Regions from separate parts of the Homo sapiens genome. Here region 2 is linked to region 1. Evidence: promoter capture Hi-C in 16 types of primary human blood cells and fetal thymus (Javierre and others, 2016). All regions are on one chromosome and are shown on one strand. The core of a region is centred on a gene start or on the middle of the fragment in contact, and the rest is flanking DNA. Distances in the headings are between cores, read along the strand shown.

Region 1 (6,856 bases), core at 1,563-4,062:
CTCAAGAGGTTTGCAAATTACTTGGGGAGACAAGAGTTGTCTTTTGAGGGCAGTGCCAATTCAGGTTTCAGCTAAGAGACATCAGTGGGAGCTAGAATATGGGGAAGGCTTCCTGGAGAGGATGGATGGCACTGGAGCTGGGCCTGAATAGGTGGGACTTGCCCTAGAGAAGGAAGCTGCACATTTCAGAGCTGGAAAGTATCTTAGAAACCATTTGTTCCAACTCCTCATTTCACATCAGTATTATAAAGTCTTAATTAACTATAAAATACTACATAAATGTAAAGTATCTCTGGCTTTATCACTGAACCTGGTTGCTGAAGACTAGGAAAATGTAGATTTGCCCAAAGCCATCCACCTGTTTAGTGGCAGAGCCAAGACTCAAAGCCAGGTCCCCTGCCTCCCAGGGTGGGGAAGGCTCCCAGATGGGTAGGGGAAGTCCACTCACCTGTCCCTGGGCAGGCTCGGTGGCAATGTCTGTGATTGGCATCTGGTGCCCAGCCAGCTCCTCGCTCAGTACAATGTTGGGACCCTTTGCTGGGATGTCAAACACCAGCACCCGGCCTGACCACGTTCCTGTATCCAGAACCAGTACTCCAGTGATGACTTCCTGACCCTCCTGGGTCTCCAGCCACCATACTCAACACTTACTCCATCCCAGAAACCTTAGTAACAAAACCCCCTCTCACTGCTCCAACGGCCATGCCCCTTCATTCACTAGCCTTGTCTTATCCCACCCTGACCCTCTGAACCCTTCCATGGTTTACTGGAGTCTCTGATTCCACTCCACTTCCACCCTTCCCTCTAACTTTCCACAATTTCCTCAGGCCCTCATTATTCTCCTGGCCACAGCCCACATGCCCCAGCACCCCTCCATGCCCTGCACTTGGCTCCCTCACCCACACAGATGAAGTGGCCACTGGCAGCAATTCCCCGGGCAAACACAGCCTGTACTGAATATGAAAGGGGAGAATGATCAGAAATATCCCCTCCTGCAGCCCTAGCAAACACTCCCTGCCCCCACCCCACTTGGTCCTGCAGGTACCTGGGGAGGCATCTCCAGAGTCCAGTGCATGCCAGTAGACCATGGTGTAGCCATTGGACTCGTACATCTGGAAGACCGGGGCAAGAACCAGGGGGCATAACCCAACTGACCTCTGCTGAGTACTTCACATATCCGTGTTAGCCTTAGCCCATTTAATCCTCAAAACAAATCTGGGATGTAGGTACTATTTTTATCCTAATTTTTTCAGAGGACAACAGTGAGAGTGAGAAGTTAATAGTGTAAGGACATACAGCTAGTAAAGGGGCAGATACTGGAGGTGGCACTTGGAAACTGGAAAAGATGGAAAGATTGAAGATAAGAAATAGAAAAAGAGTGAGTGGGCCAAGCATGTGAAAAGTCTGGAAGTGTTTAGAGGCAAGTGGGAAAGTCTGGAAGCCTGGCAGGGAAGCTGAGAAGGCTCTGGTGGGGCAAGCAGGAGAGTCCTCTTCTTACCTGTATTCCTCGATGTGAGGTGAGTACCAGCAGCACTCGGAAGGGGAGGACACACCAGTGGACCTGGAGGGAGGTGCATCAGTGTAGGGAGAAAATCAAAGCAGGGAAGATGAGTTTGTTTGTTTTTTTTTTTTTTTTGGGGGACGGAGTCTTGCTCTGTGGCCCAGGCTGGAGTGCAGTGGCGCCATCTCGGCTCACTGCAACCTCAGCCTCCTGGGTTCAAGCGATTCTCCTGCCTCAGCCACCCAAGTAGCTGGGATTACAGGTGCACGCCACCACACCCGGTTAATTTTTTTTGTATTCTTAGTAGAGAAGAGGTTTCACCATGTTGGCCAGGCTGGTCTCGAACTCCTGGCCTCAAGTGCCCGTCTCAGCCTCCCAAAGTGTTGGGATTACAGGCGTGAGCCACCGCGCCCGGCAGGAGAGGGGAGATTCTGAGGTTAGGACATGCCTGGGGAGATTCTGAGGTTAGGACATGCCTGCTCCTGAAGGTTTGGAGAGAAAAGGCTGGGGGTAGGACTGGGTTCAGCAACATCACTCCCAGCTCCATGCCTCACCTGAGTGATAAGTGGGGGACTCACTCCAGCACCCTCCTTAGCGTGGAGCTGGCGCTGGGCCAAGGGCACACCCTCAGGAGCAGCGCTGAGAAGCTGGGCGCTTGGTCCATGAACCACGCCAAAATACGTGAGGTTGCGAGCCGGCAGCTGCAGCACACTGAGGTTGTTGCACAGGGCGGCGGCCGAGCCTCGCAGGGGAATGGAGCGCTCCCAGCGGAACATCCTGTGTGGGGGTGCAGCCGAATCACCAGGCGCGCTACAAACAGACGCAGCGGAGATGCCCGAGGGCGGCTATCATCGAGCATTTCGGAAGATGCCTGAGACTGGGTCATAGGATGGGGTGCCCAGAGGACGGTGATGGGGGAGGGTCTCGAGGAGCAAGACAGGGGAGTCCCAGGGCTGTTTTGGGGCGACGGGGGAATCGCAGAGGAGGAATGGGGATGACACAGGACCACCCGATGGCCCCAAGCCCGCGAGCCAAATAAGTGTGATGAAGCCCCCAAGGCTTTCTCCCTCGGCTCGGATCCCTGAAGCCCCCGGCCTAGATCAGAGGTAACACCTGCAGCCCCAGATCGGCTCGCCTGACTCCTGGTTCGTAGGGTCCCTCCAAATCCGCCGCCACCATAGAGACGACGCACGTACGCACGGCCCTTGGGCGGGGTGAGCGGCCGGAACGTGCCGCGGGCGGCGCGGTTGCCGGGGCAACTGTGGGCGGGGCGAGCGACCCCGAGCCCGTGGTTGCCCAGGCGACTGTTAGGTGGCTTACGCGGCCCGGATGCAGCAGAAACACCAGCGTTGCTGCGACCGCGTTGGCGATGGCGCACGAAGGCTCGGTGAGCTTCAGTTCAGCTGGGGATGCGCCAGAGCCAGGGTCGGCCGTTAAGGTCGGTGTCGGGAACAGTGGGCTGGCTCTGGGCCGCCCAGTGCCCCTACTTGCTCCCGCCCACCGCGCGGGAGTTTAGATGACCAAGGAAGCCACGTCGGTACTCGGGCAGAAAACCTACACCTGCACGGTGCCCACTCAAACGCTTTGTTACACTCAAGCCATGAGGGAAAGGGTCAGTGGGTGGTGTAGAGCCCGAGAACAGGAAGTGGATTTTGAAACAGCTAATGAATGTAGTAAGTCTCTTACATGGTGGTGCGTATTTAAATGGATGAGCATTTAGAGAGGGAAGATAACAGAAAAAATCTATTTCGAGAATTTCAAGAGGAAGAAATATATTAAATAATTCAGAGACTGCACTTGAAAGTCAAATTGTTTAAGAGCCAATCAATTTTAAAATAAAGAAAACGGGGCCGGTCTCAATGGCTCATGCCTGTAATCCCAGCACTTTGAGAGGCTGAGGCGGGAGGATTGCCTGAGCTCAGGAGTTCAAGACCAGCCAGGCCAACATGGCGAGACCCCGTCTCGACTAAAATACAAAAAATTAGCTGGATGTGGTGGCGCGGTGCCTGTAATCCCAGCTACTCGGGAGGCAGAGGCAGGAGAATTGCTTGAACTCGGGAGGCGGAGGTTGCAGTGAGCCGAGATCGCGCCACTGCGCTCTAGCCTGGGTGACAGAGAGAGACTGTCTCAAAAAAAAAAAAAAAAAAAAAAAAAAAAGAAGAAGAAGAAAGAAAACGGATTTGAAGAGCCTTTGTGCAAAAATATCTCTGTCCCTTCTGGTCACCATCACGGGTGTCAGATGCGAGGCTGGGAGGGGAGGTCTAAGGAAACAACTCTCTTTACTCAGTCCAGTCAGCCCTGCTCTAGTCAAGCTTGGCCTGGGCTATGGGCCACTCCTGGTGCTTGCTACAGGGCTGTTCTCACTGGTGGATAGGGTTAATGAGACTTCAGGGATTTTGAGTTCTGCAAGACTTAGGAAACAGCAGATTTGGGGGGATAATGAATTTTAGGAAACAGATATGAGACAAGGTTTTAGCGGGGCAATAGGCAAAGGTTTGGGAAGATCACATTTGGAAGTACATTTTGGAAGGAACCAGGTTCAGGGAGACTGTTGTGGGGAATTGAGGGAGCTCCCAAGAGATTGTTTGTAAACTTTTTATGTCTCTAAAGTGAGTTTTGGGGACTAGTCTTTTTTTTTTTTTAAGTGATTACAAAAGGAAACAAACTCATTGTAGAGAACTTACAAAATAGAAAAGAGCATAGGAAGGAAACGTATCCTCTGTTATCATTTTGAAGTTTTCCTTTTGTTGAACACATAGTGGTTTACATATATGAGATCATAATTGATGTGTAAGTTTGTATCCTGCTTCTTTCAATTAACGTTACATCATAAACATTTGCTTTATGCCATTGCAAATTCTTTCTAAAGATTACCTTTAATGGCTGGGTTGGTGGCTCATGCCTGCAAGGTGGGCAGATCACTTGAGGCCAGTTCAAGACCAGTCTGGCCAACATGGCGAAACCCCATCTCTACTAAAAATAGAAAAAAAATTAGCCAGGCCTGGTGGCAGGCGCCTGTAATCCCAGCTACTCCGGAGGCTGAGGCAGGAGAATTGCTTGAACCTGGGAGGCAGAGGTTGCAGTGAGCCGAGATCTTGCCACTGCACTCCAGCCTGGGTGACAGAGCGAGATTCCGTCTCAAAAACAAAAACAAACAAACAAAAAAAGATTACCTTTAATCATTGCATAATATTTCAGTATATATAGCATGTCAATTATTTATTCTCTTTTTAAAGACATGTTTTCAATATTCTGCTATTATAAAAATACCGCAGAGAATTTGTTGGAGAATATATTTTTATCTTCATTTCAGAAAATGCCTTTTGGTTGTATTTATAGAACTGAAATTGCAGGGTTGAGGAAGTGAAAACATTTTTTAATGTCTTCATGCATACTGTTGCAGCATGGTATCACACTAAACCTTTGCCAATGCTGAGTATTCTTGTTTTTAAAATAATTCCAATTTGATGAACTAGAAATCAGAATGTCAATACTATATTTATTAGTCATCTACAGTCCCTCTCTTGTGAAATGTCATGTCCTTTGCTTATCTTTGGGATCTTAAATGGTTTTTCTTCTTATAGTTTAAATTTTTATTGCAATATAGCCCAAGCTGGACTTGAACTCCTGGGCTCAAGCAATCCCCCTGCCTCAGCCTCCCGAGCAGCTGGTACTGTGGGTGTGCGCCACTGTGCCTGGCCATTTTTCTTCTTCTATTTTTTATTTTATTAGTTTTTTTTTTCTTTTTTGAGACAGAGTCTCGCTCTGTCACCCAGGCTGGAGTTCAGTAGCATGATCTCAGCTCACTGCAAACTCTGCCTCCCGGGTTCAAGTGATTCTCGTGCCTCAGCCTCCCTAGTAGCTGGAATTACAGGCGCCCACCACCATGCCTGGCTAATTTTTGTATTATTAGTAGAGACGGGGTTTCACCATGTTGGCTAGGCTGGTCTCGAACTCCTGACCTCAAATGATCCACCCACCTCGGCCTCCCAAAGTGCTGGGATTACAGGCGTGAGCCACTGCGCCCGGCCATTTTTTTTTTTATATGAGCTTTTAATTTACTCGGGGATATTTATCTTTTTTCATATTTGTTGCAAATGTCTTTGAGAGGCTCTGGAGTCAGACAGACTTGCATGTGAATGCATTCTGACTTCACTACATCCTACTTGTATGATACTGGGTAAATTACCATAAAATGGAGATAAGAATAGTTGGTTAAAAAAAAAAAATGTAGAGAACTTTTTAAGCTCCCCTGAGCCGGGGCTGTGCTCTTCTAAGTGGGACTCCGAGCCTGGGCTATTTCTGGCGCTGGCGCGGCTCCAGGAAGGCATCCGCATTTGCGACCAGGGGCGGCTGCGGTGGAGACTGGCCTGTCCTCAGCGCCCAGCACCGCTGCTCCCGGCAAACCGGAGCATGCACCGCAGGCCAGCGGCCGAGTTCGCCCATCCCAGCCATCACTTTTCCAACTAGTCCTTAGAGAAGGGAAGATGAGCGAGTCGAGCTCGAAGTCCAGCCAGCCCTTGGCCTCCAAGCAGAAAAAGGACGGCACTGAGAAGCGGGGCCGTGGCAGGCCGCGCAAGCAGCCTCCGGTGAGTCCCAGGACAGCGCTGGTAGGGAGTCAGAAGGAGCTCAGCGAAGTGCCAACACCTAAGAGACCTCGGGGCCGACCAAAGGGAAGCAAAAACAAGGGTGCTGCCAAGACCGGGAAAACCACCACAACTCTGGGAAGGAAACCAAGGGGAAGACCCAAAAAACTGGAGAAGGAGGAAGAGAAGGGCATCTCGCAGGAGTCCTCACTGGAGGAGCAGCTTCCTTCTGGGACTGGACAGCTTTGATCTGCTCCCAACCCCCCACCTCCCACCCCCCACCCCTTCCCTACACCCACCATCACCACCGCCTCCAGCCACCACCCTCATCTTCCACCTGCACCTTCACCACCACACTACACAACACACCAGCCGCTGCAGGTCCCTATGGGCTGAGTGGAGAGGACTTTTCCCCTGGCCTCTTCCCATCCCTACCCCCTCCTCCCCCCGTCCACCCACTCATACACATGTGCCCTCCTGGACAAGGCTAATGTCCTGCTTAGCCGCACCCTGCACCTGCTGCGTCCCTGATCCCTTGGTGGTGACATTGCTCTCTGGGCTTTTGGTTTGGGAGCCACTTCTCTGCTCCTCCACTGTTGCCTCTGGCTTCCCATAGAGGGGCCTGGGAGGGTTCCCCTGGTCTTAAAAGGGGCCCAAGCCCCCATTCTGGCACACCCCACTCCACTGTCCTGGCAGCAGCAGGTGTGGCCAATGGAGGGGGGTGCTGGCCCCCAGGATTCCCCCAGCCAAACTGTCTTTGTCACCACGT
Region 2 (6,856 bases), core at 1,805-4,304, 170 kb after region 1:
AAACCCCGTCTCTACTAAAAATACAAAAAAATTAGCCAGGTGTGGTGGTACGCGCCTGTAATCCCAGCTCCTCGGGAGGCTGAGGCAGGAGAATCACTTGAACCCGGGAGGCAGAGGTTGCAGTGAGCCGAGATCATGCTATTGCACCCCAGCCTGGGCAACAGAGCAAGACTGCGTCTCAGAAAAAAAATAAAAATAATAAATAATAAAAGAGAAGGAGGCAACAACTAGGAGAGAAGTTGTCAGGTAAGCTTGGGCAGCAAGACAAAGGTGAGGATGCTCAAGGGGGAGCCTCATGGGAGGGGAAGAGGAAATGTTCCTCCAAAGCAAACATAGGGTTCCATGGAGGGAAGTAAAAAAGTTAAGAATGGGCCCAGCGCAGTGGCTCATTCCTCTAATCCCAGCACTCTGGGAGGCCAAGGCGGGTGAATTGCTCGAGCCCAGGAGTTGGAGACCAGCCTGGGCAGCATGGTGAAACCCTGTATCTACTGAAAATACAAAAAATTAGCCGGGCTTGGTGGTACACGCCTGTAGTCCCAGCTACTCAGGAGGCTGAGGTGGGAGGATCACTTGAGCCTAGGAGGTGGAGGTTGCAGTGAGCCAAGATTGCGCCACTGCACTCCATGCAGCCTGGGTGATGGAGCAAGACCCTGTCTCAAAAAAAAAAAAAAAATGCATACTGTTCAGGGCCAGAGAATTCTCTTCACTTGCTTCTGTTTTTCCTTCTCACTTTCATGCTCCTCTTCCTTAATCTTCTCTGTCTCCTCCTCCATCTTCTTTGCAGATTTCTGTTTATACTACTGGGACCTTCTGGGAGAGCAAAATCCTACAATGAAATTGGCCGTGCCATTGCAACCCTCATGGTAGATGATGTAAGTGGTAACCAGAAGCTTGTACTCCTGAATTTTACAGCTCCTGCACCAAGCACTGCACCTTCATTCATTAACTTATCCAGCCAGCACATTTGAGCACCTACTGTGTACCAGGCACTACATAGGATGCTAAAGATTATGAGAATCAGGGAATAGTCATTGTCCTTTAGGAGAACCAATCAAGTGTGAGGGACAGATTGATAATTGTAAAACTAACCATGTGCTAGCTGCCCAGGGGGTCAAGGAGGGCTTCACAGATGAGGGGGCTTTAAAGCTAAGGAGGAGCAGGAGGAAGGTAGACCCAGCACCAGGCTGTGAGGCAAGCATTCCAAACAAAGGAAATGGATCAGGCTCAGAGAAGCTGGATGGAGGTGGTTTGATATAGGCTCAGTGTAAGAGCTTCAAGGGCAGGAGGTAATACTGGAGAGGTGAGCCAGAGACTACACAGAGCCTGTAAGCAGAGCTGAGTCACACTCTGTCCCCAGAGTGATGGGGAGCCTAGAGGACTTTAACTCTTTTTCCGTTTGTGCCAAGAATACTCACTGGCGGTGCTTGCGGCTGCAGGCTTTACCCTGAGATAACTTTTCCCCACGAAATGTCTCACTTTTATTATTATTTTTGCATTGCTCTTATATGTTGACTTTGGAAACAAAAGACATCATTCTACTTAAAGCATTCTGTTTTTAGTTGTGGCATTTCCATTTACAAAATACACTAACTCTCAATCATTGAAAATATCAAATCCTAGAAAACTAGCATTCCTACGAGTGATGCTAACATCATTCTCGAACAGTTTTTGGCCTAAGATTCATTTGATGAATCCAGTGTTTCCAAAATAGATGATTCTGATCATTCCAATGATTCCAATGTTAGTTCTTTTTAGAAATAATTCTAAGAATAATTTTTATATTGCATTTTCACATTGAAAATCAGTCAGATTTGCTTCGGCCTCAAAGAGTGTGTTTATGTAAAATTAAATGAGTGCTGGCAGTGAGCTGCACTTTTTTTTTTTGCCTAAATGGGAAAGGGTTAAATGTGAGCATAGTCCCATCGAATCTGTAAGTCAGAAAGCACACTCTGGAGACAGTGTGAAGAACACGGCCTGAGCCTCCAAGGGCGAAGGGCTGGAAGTAAAAAATGGTTATGAAATATCTGAGCTCCTTGGACTGGGCTCTACAAAGGTTTTCTAATATGTATGATGTGTGGAAAACTGAAAACAGAAAGGTTAAGTAACTTAACCGAAGTCCTACAAGCAAGAATATGGAGACCTGGCCTTCAGATCCAAGAGAGGCTGTCTTCCCCCAGTGCCTGCTGTGTCCCATTGTGCCATATTTTACCAATGTACTATAGTCTCATTCCAAAAACTGAGAGTGAGTTGGCAGTGGGAGATGTGGTTCAAAGGGATTCCTTTAAAAACTAGATGTGATATGCTCCCAGGCATTTCAGAAACAGACCCGATCTTTCTTTTCTCCCTCCTCTCTCCTCGCCAGCTCTTCAGTGACGTGGCCTACAAAGCCCGCAATCGGGAAGATCTGATCGCAGGAATTGATGAATTTCTGGATGAGGTCATCGTCCTTCCTCCTGGAGAATGGGACCCAAATATCCGGATTGAGCCCCCCAAGAAGGTGCCCTCTGCTGACAAGAGGTGTGTATGAGAATGGGCAGTAGGGAGAGAAAAAGGAGGCTTCAACTCTGTCGGTATCATTTTATTTCTCTTTAAAATACATCTGAGGCTCAGCATAGTGGCTCATGCCTGTAATCTCAACACTTTGGGATGCTGAGGCAGGTGGATCACTTGAGCCCAGGAGTTTGAAACCAGCCTGGGCAACATAGTGAGATCTTGTCTCTACAAAACAAAAATCAAATTAACTGGGCATGGTGGCATGCACCTATAGTCCCTGCTACTCTGGAGGCTGAGGCAGGAGGATTGATTGAGCCCAGGAGGTCAAGGCTGCAGTGAGCTGTGATCATGCCACTGTACTCCAGCCTGGGCAACAGAGTTTGACCCTGTCTCAAAATAATGTTTAAAATAAGTTTAAAAATAATAAGATATATCAGAAACAAATATGGCTAAATGTGAACATTTGTAAAATCTAGGTGACCTGCGTGTGGATATTGTTAGACAATTTTCTGCATTTTTGTCTGTCTTTTAAGATATTTCATAATTTTGGTTGGAGAGGTGAGGGGTGCTCTGGGGGACCCACTCTCCTTCATCCCCCTTCTCTTCCAGGAAATCTGTGTTCTCCCTAGCAGAGCTGGGCCAGATGAATGGCTCTGTGGGAGGAGGCGGCGGAGCTCCTGGAGGAGGCAATGGAGGTGGTGGTGGTGGTGGCAGTGGCGGCGGGGCTGGCAGTGGCGGGGCCGGCGGAACAAGCAGCGGGGATGATGGAGAGATGCCAGCCATGCATGAAATCGGGGAGGAACTTATCTGGACAGGAAGGTGCCCACCCCAGGCCTCCCAGTGACCCTGCTGTCCTTTAGACTTCTCCCTTCTCAGCTGCCCTCTAGGGACTTTTCCCAACCATGGTCTGTAGTGCCCACTCGAGGTCACCCCTGCCTTCTTTCCCTCCCAGAGCCCTTGAACCCCATCATGGATCCCCAAAAGGTTGCCTCAGGAGAGGGGAATTTGAGACCCATACAAGAGGAGAGGAACCCAAACTTTTCTCTTAGATATCCTTTGGTGCCTGTTTCCTGGGTCTGCTGTAACAAAGTACCACAAACTAGGTGGCTTAAAACCACAGAAGGTTACTCTCCTGCAGTTCTGGAGGCCAGGAGTTCCACAGCAGGTGTTGGCAGGACCACCGTGCTCCCTGAGGCTCCAGGTGGAATCCTTCCTGGCCTCCTCCTGGCTTCTGGTGGTGGCCAGCAGTCCTTGGTGTTCCTGGCTGGCAGCCGCATCACCCCCGGCTCTGCCTCTCCACCACATGGCCTCCTGTGTGTCTGTCTTCACAGAGCACTTTCCTCTTTGTGTATGGACCCCAGTCATGTTGGAATAGGGCCCACCATAATGACTTAATCTAAACTGGATTACATTTGCATAGGTGTTACATAGATGTTAGGACCTTAATATATCTTTTGGGGGGACACAACTCAATAACAGTACCTTTTTTAAAACTTAATTTACCTATTCAAAAACTTTTTTTTTTTTTAAAGAAAATAAGAGAAAGTTCTCCTGGCCTGGGTTTCTTTTCCAGCTCTTGGAGTCATTCAGGTTGATCTAGATTTAGGAAAGGATGTGGCCTTGAAAATCTACATATAAATCATGACTTTGAGAATGAAGTCATGTTTTATATGCCCTTGGCTTTATACCAGTGGTTCTCACTGTAAGCAGCTTTGGCCCTCCTTAGTCCCCCTACCCCCGAGCCCAGGGAATTTGGCAATGTCCAGAGACATTTTTGCTTGTCACAACCGGAGAGGGGAGATGCTACTCGCATCTAGTAGGTAGCTGCTAAACATCCTGCAGTGCATGGGACAGCCCCTGCAGCAAAGGAGTATCCAGTCCAAAATATCAGCAGAACTGAGGTTGAGAAACTCTGCTCCATGCTAAGGACTGCATTAGGGGCTATGGGAATAGCAATCCCAGTAAACAGTGTCTCCAAACCTAAAATCTTCCACTCAGCTGTTCCAGATAGCAAAATCAAAAAACAAACAAATACCAACCAGTTATAAGGTTTAGGATCTGTTCTTAATGAATCTGTTATAATCTGGGATGCTTCTGTCACCGAAAGTTAGACACTCCTGTGTTCACCAAGAGCAGGCACCCTGCAGATGGTCAGGGATGTGAGGAGGACCACCATCTGTGGACCCCAGGACTTCCATTCTCCATGGAATGTTAGGTCTACCCCAGGACATATTCCCATCAGACTTTCCCTCTCCAAAACCCTCTATGTCCACCCTTCCCAATGTGGGTGGTGCCAACCACAAACTCAGTCCTACAGGAATTCATCCCTGGCCCTAAATGTTCTGGTGGAAAGATCTTTGCCCCATCCACCCTGGTCAAGTTCCTTTCCTCGCCCCAGACTCTGCAAGTTCTTGTAAATAGCCCTGCCCCTGCACTGGTGTTAGTGGTGAGAAAGCAGCCCCTGGGCCTGTCTTGAGCAGGTTCTTCGGTGGCCTGTGTCTGGATATCAAGAGGAAGTTGCCCTGGTTCCCAAGTGACTTCTATGATGGCTTCCACATTCAGTCCATCTCTGCCATCCTATTCATCTACCTCGGCTGTATCACCAACGCGATCACCTTTGGTGGGCTTCTGGGGGATGCCACCGACAATTATCAGGTGTGTGCGAGCCGGTGCCCTGAGTGTAAAAGTAAGATCTGCCGCCACCTGGTGGCAGCAGGAAGCTTCATCCTGTAATCCCAAAACCAAGGTTTCATCTACCATCCAGGTTGAGGCCATCACTATTTGTAATCCTTTACGCTTCAAGTAATAATAATATAATAAGACAATATTAAAAGATCTGAAGCTAAATCTCATTACTAAAGACCAAACTTAATGATTATTTAAATAGGTCAAACCGTTAAGGGGAATCATCTGCTGTGTTATTTGGTACTTTTCCCACTGATGCTGGAGTGAATTTAATCAGCACAATTAATGGAGTGCTAATTGTGGCCTTCTCCCCACACTTTTTAAAAACTAACCTTGAATTCTTAGTTTGGAGTTAAGACATTTTTAGAAGGATGGTAAGCTGTTGCCATGACAACAACTCAGGCCTCCCTGGGGAAAACAGCTCAGCAGACACCTGCCAATCTCCTAGGCAAGGGTCTTCTCCAATGGAGGCCTTCAAAGTAGAGCCATTGGAAAGCTCAGTACCCCAAGGAGAAGACCCATTTGTCAAGCTGCCTTTTGGGCATGTCCACATGGCTGCCCCTCAGGATTCCCCATGGCTGCCCCTCAGGATCCCCCAGTTCACACAGCTGACATTGCGTCCCTTATCTTCCCTCCTGACGTGCTGCTCCCTGCCCTTCCCCAGCACAGCAGGTGATACCGTGGTTCACCCAGCTGTCTACACCGGAAACTAAGCATTATCCTTGACTCATAAGTCCCAGCTGCCCCATGTGGCCCTCACCACATGGCCCTACCTGGCTCTCACGCCTCATCTCCCAGCATTCTCTTTCTCAGCATTCCTACCCTCCCCAACCATTCTACATTCTGTTTTCCATCAATCCTGATCATCTTTTGGTTCTTCAAGTACATGCTGTTTTTCAGCTCCAGACCTTTTAGACACTATTCCCTCTTCCTGGGACACTGTTTCTTATCACTCCACTTAACCCTATTCCCCTGGCCAATTCTCTGCTCATTTTTTGGATCTCAGCTTCCACTTATCTACTTCTAGGGAGGCCTTCCTGACTACATCTTTACCTCTACTGCGTGCTCCTGTGGCACCCTAAACCTATCCCAGCACACCTCTTGGCAGTGGCTCTCAACCAGGGACAATTTTCACCCCAGGAGACATTTAACAATATCTAGAGACAGTTTTCATTGTTATAACTGGGAGGAGGGTTCCTACTGGTATCTAATGTGTAGAGGCTGTGGATGCTACTAAACACACTACAATACACAGGACAGACCCTCCACAGCAAAGAATCATCTAGCCCAAAATGTCCATTGTGCCGAGGTTGAGAAACCCTGCTATATGGGAATTGCCTGGTTACTTACCTGTGTCTCCCACTGGAATGAAGATATGTTATCTTGTTCAGTGATGGGTTCTCAATACCTTTCACAATGCCTGGTACACAGCAGACACTCAGCGGACTTTGAATAAATGAATGATCTGACCTCTAAAAGCACCAAACAGATGTTTAGATGAATGAATAATCAGATGGATAAATGGGCTGTCCTCTGGGAGTAGAATGGACACAGAGAAAAGCACATCCACTGTTTTCTAGGCCCTGGGTGCCAGAAGGAAGTCACATGGTACCTTTATCTAGATGGAATTAAACAGAGTGACAATGGCCATGGTGGCAAGTTGTGGAGGGTGTAGGAG

What was found. The method cuts DNA at HindIII sites, captures the fragments that hold promoters and counts their contacts. A CHiCAGO score of 5 or more calls a contact.
Region 2: a contact is called between a fragment that was not itself captured here and the fragment with the promoter of C2orf81 in region 1, in 4 of 17 cell types (naive CD4 T cells, total CD8 T cells, naive CD8 T cells and 1 more). The highest score is 6.4, in naive CD4 T cells.

What each region holds. Positions count from the first base shown.
Region 1 is chr2:74,417,575-74,424,430 of GRCh38, reverse strand. It overlaps C2orf81 (chromosome 2 open reading frame 81), which reads left to right and starts at 2,812. Exons shown (of 3, transcript NM_001316764.3): 1 at 2,812-2,888. The coding sequence starts at 2,871. WDR54 (WD repeat domain 54) reads right to left here and starts at 2,701. Exons shown (of 10, transcript NM_032118.4): 1 at 2,615-2,701; 2 at 2,056-2,278; 3 at 1,499-1,561; 4 at 1,046-1,112; 5 at 900-953; 6 at 449-576. The coding sequence starts at 2,277. It also overlaps the pseudogene HMGA1P8. RefSeq lists an enhancer at 2,022-2,201 and a silencer at 2,602-2,881. The HindIII fragment of the contact is 12,224 bases long and covers 1-3,815 here.
Region 2 is chr2:74,248,635-74,255,490 of GRCh38, reverse strand. SLC4A5 (solute carrier family 4 member 5) reads left to right here. Exons shown (of 31, transcript NM_133478.3): 14 at 785-872; 15 at 2,363-2,517; 16 at 3,103-3,312; 17 at 4,974-5,148. Among named protein-coding and RNA genes, the nearest start is that of MTHFD2, 53 kb to the right of the region's middle. RefSeq lists enhancers at 4,910-4,969, 5,020-5,189. The HindIII fragment of the contact is 4,323 bases long and covers 893-5,215 here.